Linked DNA regions of Homo sapiens: region 1 is linked to region 2. The links are contacts of gene promoters, found by promoter capture Hi-C in blood cells and fetal thymus (Javierre and others, 2016). All regions are on one chromosome and are shown on one strand. Each heading gives the region's core, a stretch centred on a gene start or on the middle of the fragment in contact. The rest is flanking DNA. Distances are from core to core; before and after follow the strand shown.

Region 1 (2,752 bases), core at 84-2,583, 3.2 Mb after region 2:
ATGTTTCCTTCTTCCATTTGTAATTAACAGGTACTCTCTGGGACCATCTTCTTCTCTATCAGCCTTTCACTCAGTGATTTTAGCAGCATTTATATATATATATATAAAACTATAGATTATATATATGATAAATATATATCAGTTTTATACCCTCTCTTTTTTTCTTTTTTTTCGAAGACTCACTATGGATTCCTGGATTTTTTAAAATTGTCTTTTATAATCAATTATTATTCTTTCTGGTCGATTTTTTTTCCCCCAGATGTGGCCAGTGAAGCCCCTTCAAGACAGTTCTTATGTTCTTTGGGCACTAATCCAGCTTCTTTGAGCATTTTCTTGCTTTCTGATACAAGATGTTTCAGTCATCCCTTCTCCCTGCTGCAGTCATTTCTTCAGGGAGCCTTGGTTACTTTTTAGCAGACAACAGTTCAGAAACCAAGATGTGGATGCCACAAATGCTCATTGCTACTGGAGTGTCATTGCTCACAGGTTTGGCACCTGGAATATTAATGAGTGAACAAACTTTACCTAGCCCCAGACACTAAGAATATGGAAACGTTTATTTATTTATTTATTTTTGAGGCGGATTCTCGCTCTGTCACCCAGGCTGGAGTGCAGTGGTGGGATCTCGGCTCACTGCAAGCTCCGCCTTCTGGGTTCACGTCATTCTCCTGCCTCAGCCACCCGAGTAGCTGAGACTACAGGCCACCACGCCCGGCTAATTTTTTGTATTTTTAGTAGAGACAGGGTTTCACCATGTTAGCCAGAATGGTCTCGATCTCCTGACCTCGTGATCTGCCCGCCTTGGCCTCCCAAAGTGTTGGGATTACAGGCATGAGCCACCGCACCCGGCCTCGGAAACATTTATTAAACAGCAGTGTATCAGCTGCCTGTCACTACCACTAATTATAGCCAGCATTTTGTAGAATACTTACCGTTTGGCAGCTGTCATCTTTGTGCTTTCATGTGAATTACCTAATTTATGTCCTTTCATAGTCCTACTGTCTCCATTTTTGGATAAGGAAACTGAGGCTTAAAGTAAACTACTTTCCCGAGGTCGCATGACTGGTAGCAGGGGAACCAGGGTGATAAACTTGGTCTGTCTGGCTGCAGAGCCTGCACTTAGTAACACATGGTCCCAGCCAGCACTGGGCTAGATGCCAATGATTCCAGACTAACCTGGACCCTGCCATCTGGAGCACAGTCTGGTCGGGAGAAGAGGACCAGAGTGATGGGGCATCAGCAAAGGCCTGGAGAGCAGAGAGGAAGTCACCTATCAGGTAGGGACTGTTGTCATTTCCGTTTTACAGGTGATAAGATGGCTGCAAAGATTTACTTGTCCACAGTCTGAGAGGCAGAAAGAGCAGAACTGGGTTTTTAACCAAGTCTGATACAGGGCCTTTGCTATTAATCACTATACTGTATATTAGAGGGCAGGATGCAAGTTATTCTCCTTTTTATTTTTATTTTTGTGGGATGGAATCTCACTCTGTTGCTCATGCTGGAGTGCAGTGGTGTGATCTTGGCTTACTGCAACCTCCACCTCCCGGGTTCAAGCAATTCTCCTGTGTCAGCCTCCTGAGTAGCTGGGACTACAGGTGCCCACCACCACGCCTGGCTAATTTTTTGTATTTTTGGTAGAGACGGGGTTTTACCATGTAGGCCTGGCTGGTCTCGAACTCCTGACCTCAGGTGATCCACCCGCCTCAGCCTACCAAAGTGCTAGGATTACAGGTGTGAGCCACCGCGCCTGGCCAGGGCCGCTTCTTAAGGTGAGTGCTCCCCAAGACTCTGTTCTTGGGCCACTTCCAGTCCCACTTCCCACTTCCTCCTGGGCAAGCAACTGACAGCCCTGATGCTATCCATCTTCTGTCTCCAGCTCCCACACCTCTTGCTCCGTGAGTTCGGATCTGTGGATCCTACCTTGTGCCTATTGGATTTTATTGCATGGACATCCCACAAGCGTAACAAATAAACGTCTACAACTTCTTCTCAAGGCGGTTCCTGCCTCTGGATTTGTTATACCTGGACAGGGCATGACCCCTGGGCTAAGAACTCAAGCCGTAAATCTGAGTATCAGCCTTGTTTAGTTTTCTCCATCTCCATCAGTGATCAAGTGCTGTGTGACAAGTCACCCCAATATGTAGTGGTTTAAACCCACCATGGTTTATTGCTTCCTGTGACTCTTCTGGTTTCACCTGGGCTCCCTTAATGTGGCTTCATTCAGCTGGGAGTTGGCTGGAAGGTCTCAAATGGCTTCACTCTCACACTGGCCTTGATTCCCCCCTCGTGGCCTCCCTCTCTCATTTTTCAGTGGTCTAGCCTGTGTCCCTTTAAATGGCAGCTGGGAATGACAAAGCTGGGAAGTGGCAGTCACTTTCACCATGTTCTCTCGGTCAAAGTGTCACAGACACAGACTCCTCTTGTTGATTAGTGGGGTGGCGTACCTATACAGGGATGGGGGTCAGTGTTGTCCATAGAGACGCCCACAGCACCCCCTGCATCCAATCAGACATCAGGTCAGCAGCTGCACCCCTAGGTGGTAGGCTGGTAGCACACATGACCCCACTTCTCTCCCTGTCTGGATCTGTGCCCTTGGCTGCTGAACTTTGCAGTGCCCTCCCACGTGCGGGGAGGGGGTTCCATCCTACCCCTTGACTCTGTGCTCAGGCATGTGACTTACTTTAGCAAATGTGATTCAAGAAAAAGCTTGTAATGGGGCTTTTGCCTGTTTTAATCCCTCTCCAGCTCCCCT
Region 2 (2,708 bases), core at 99-2,598:
GCACTGGGGATACCTAGATGAATCAAACAGGATCCCTGCCCTCAAAGAGACTGTGGTCACTCTTCTCAGCTGACATTTTTCTCCCGGCCACCTGATATATCTAGGGGATCATCAGACTTGTCCGACCAAGCTGTGTCCCCTCTCAACACCCCTCAGACCCATGTGTAGCCCCATTCCATCTTTCTCAGTGTTCTCCATTGTCCTTAACTGTAGTTAACCTTTGCCAACATCCTCAGCGTCAAGCTCCAATCCCTTTCTGACCCTATGGCCCTCTTAACACAGCCTTGGTGAATGTCCTATTTCCTGGTCCCTCCTTTTCCCTATTGGGGTTTTTCCAGCGCCTCAGCATCTCCTTTCATGTCTCCCCATCACCCTCAGAGATCTTCCATCCTCATCACTGTTCCCTTTCAGGGACCTTCCTTCTGCCCCCAGAAACTCCCTTAATGGCCAACTTCAGGACTCTCCCGTTATTCCTATCCAGATCCTCCTTCCGACATCTCCCCCTCCCCTGCAGCGACCTCCGATCCTCTCCTACCACTCAGAGCCCCTTCACCTTTCAGTGCCCTTGCACCCATGTCAGGGACCTGCATCCTTCTGGGGACCCCTCCCATCCCTCTTAGTGTTGTCAGGGAATTGCATCCTTCTCGGGACCCCTTCCATCATTCTCACTGTGCCTGCACAGTGTCAGGGACCCGCATCCCCTGGGGACCCCTCCCATTTCTCTTAGTGTTCTTGAACTCTGGTCAAAGACTTGCATCCTTCTTGGGACCCCTCCCTTCCCTCTCAGAGTCCCCGCACAGTGTCAGGGACTGGCATTCCTCTTAGTGTTCTTCAACTCCTGCCAGGGACCTGCAGCCTTCTCGGGGCCCCTCCAATTCTTATCAGTGTCCCCGCACGGTGTGAGCGACCGGTATCCTCCTAGCGACCCCTTACATACGTCTGTGTTCCCGCAGTGTGAGGGACCTGCATCCCCCTGGGGACCCCTGCCATCCTTCTCTGTGTCATCGCGTAGTGTCAGGGGCCTGAATCCCCCTCAGAGCCCCTCCATCCCTGTCAGAGGCCTCGCATCCGCTCAGGAGGCCCTCAACACTCTCGGAGTCCCCTCACTCCCGCGCCAGCGCGGCCGCACCTCCTCGGCCGGCTGCGTGTTGAGCACCAGCACCAGGCAGGCTGGGTGGCAGTGCAGCTGGAGAAAGTGGTAGAGGAGCCGGTCCGCGCCGAGCCCGCGGGCGCACACTACTAGCCCGTCAGTGTCGAGCAGTTCCAGCACCAGCTGTCGCTCGTACTCCAGCAGCGGCGCCATGGCAATCCGTCGAGCCGGCTGCCCTGACTCCATGGAAGCTCTTCCGGGTCGCAGCCGAACGCAGCCGAAGGAAGCCGACTCCTAGTGGAGAGTAGGCCGAACTCAACCGAAGAGAGCCGAGTCCGAGAGGACGGCAGCCAGCCGAACGTAGCCGAGGAGAGCTGAGACTGAGATGATCGTGGGCCGAACGCAGCCGAAGAGGAGCCGAGGCCACGACAGGCGCGCTCTCAGAAAGCCGAAGAGAGCCGAGCCTGAGAAGGCAAGCGTTGGCCGAACTCAGCCGAAGAAGAGCCGAGTGGAGCCGAAGATTCATGGAGTCACCTGTAGGGGCTGGCGCCCCCTGTCGGTGTAGCTTGCAGATATCAGGCTCCATTCACGTCTCTTTTGAGTTTCCACATCCCCTGGCACCCTAGCCTCAAGCTGCCAAAAAGCAAGGGAAGGGGAAGTAAGCCTAAGGAGCTTAATCCCCCGACATCGACAGTTGAAAAAGTTACTGGTCAATATTCCAAATGCGCCAAGAGTTAGTAGCACCTGTTTCCTAGGGTGGTTTTTGGCCCTTCCTTTTGCGATTACTCCCCATCCTTCTTTTAATTTTTTTTTTCTTTCCCGAGACAGGATGTTGATATGTTGCCCAGGCTGGAGTGCAGTGGCTGTGGAATAAGCAGAATCATTTACTGACTTCAGACCTCTGTTTGCCTCCCAAAGACTTCAATACAATAAACTATTTTTAAAAATCCCTCCTTCCACTAGAGGGACACCTCCCGCAGTGTTTGTTCTATACCTAGAAATGCCTGATAGTTGAACTAGTAGAGGAATTGTTTTGTATAGAAACCCCCCACCTTTGTTATTAGAAAATAGAAAATACAAGTAAACAAAAATGAAAATCACTTGTTTCCATTACTTGGAAATAACCACTGTTAACATCACGAAATCTATTTTATTTAGTCCTTTTTTTTCTATCTATATACACATTCTCTCATCACACGGAGTTCTTTTACCGACACGAGATAATTAATATCCCTGATTTAAATCCCCAGCTTTGTCATTAACATTTGGCAAACCTCTGAACATGATGTTTCATATTCTTTTACAAAGTCCTTTTATATGGCTGATGAGATTTCCATTATGTGGGTGTACTTACCTAATTGCTTATTAGAGGACATTTAGTCTGTTTCTGCTTTTTCCCTTCCAGTAATATAAATAATATTTCACTAAACATCTTTGTATGTAAATTCAGCCGTGGCCTTCAGATACACGTCTAGAAATGAATAATCACTGGGATAAAGAGAAAAAAATTTGTAAGGCTTTTCATTCCATTCACATTGCCACATTGCCCTCTAGAAAGCCTATACCAATTCACATTCACACTAGCCGTTTCCAAGAGGATCTGTTCCTCTACCTCTTT

What was found. Contacts are between HindIII fragments. The CHiCAGO score rates a contact against its expected background, and 5 or more counts as called.
Region 1: a contact is called between a fragment that was not itself captured here and the fragment with the promoter of ERCC4 in region 2, in 2 of 17 cell types (naive CD4 T cells and total CD8 T cells). The highest score is 7.4, in naive CD4 T cells.

What each region holds. Positions count from the first base shown.
Region 1 is chr16:10,740,464-10,743,215 of GRCh38, reverse strand. No RefSeq gene overlaps it. Among named protein-coding and RNA genes, the nearest start is that of NUBP1, 2.0 kb to the left of the region's middle. The HindIII fragment of the contact is 2,751 bases long and covers 1-2,708 here.
Region 2 is chr16:13,918,794-13,921,501 of GRCh38, reverse strand. ERCC4 (ERCC excision repair 4, endonuclease catalytic subunit) reads right to left here and starts at 1,348. Exons shown (of 11, transcript NM_005236.3): 1 at 1,130-1,348. The coding sequence starts at 1,336. The region is part of intron 1 of LOC105371093 (a long non-coding RNA gene); the gene reads left to right. LOC124903647 (a long non-coding RNA gene) reads left to right here and starts at 1,424. Exons shown (of 2, transcript XR_007065001.1): 1 at 1,424-1,823; 2 at 1,919-2,037. RefSeq lists enhancers at 895-1,104, 1,145-1,504, 1,715-1,764. The HindIII fragment of the contact is 6,939 bases long and covers 1-2,708 here.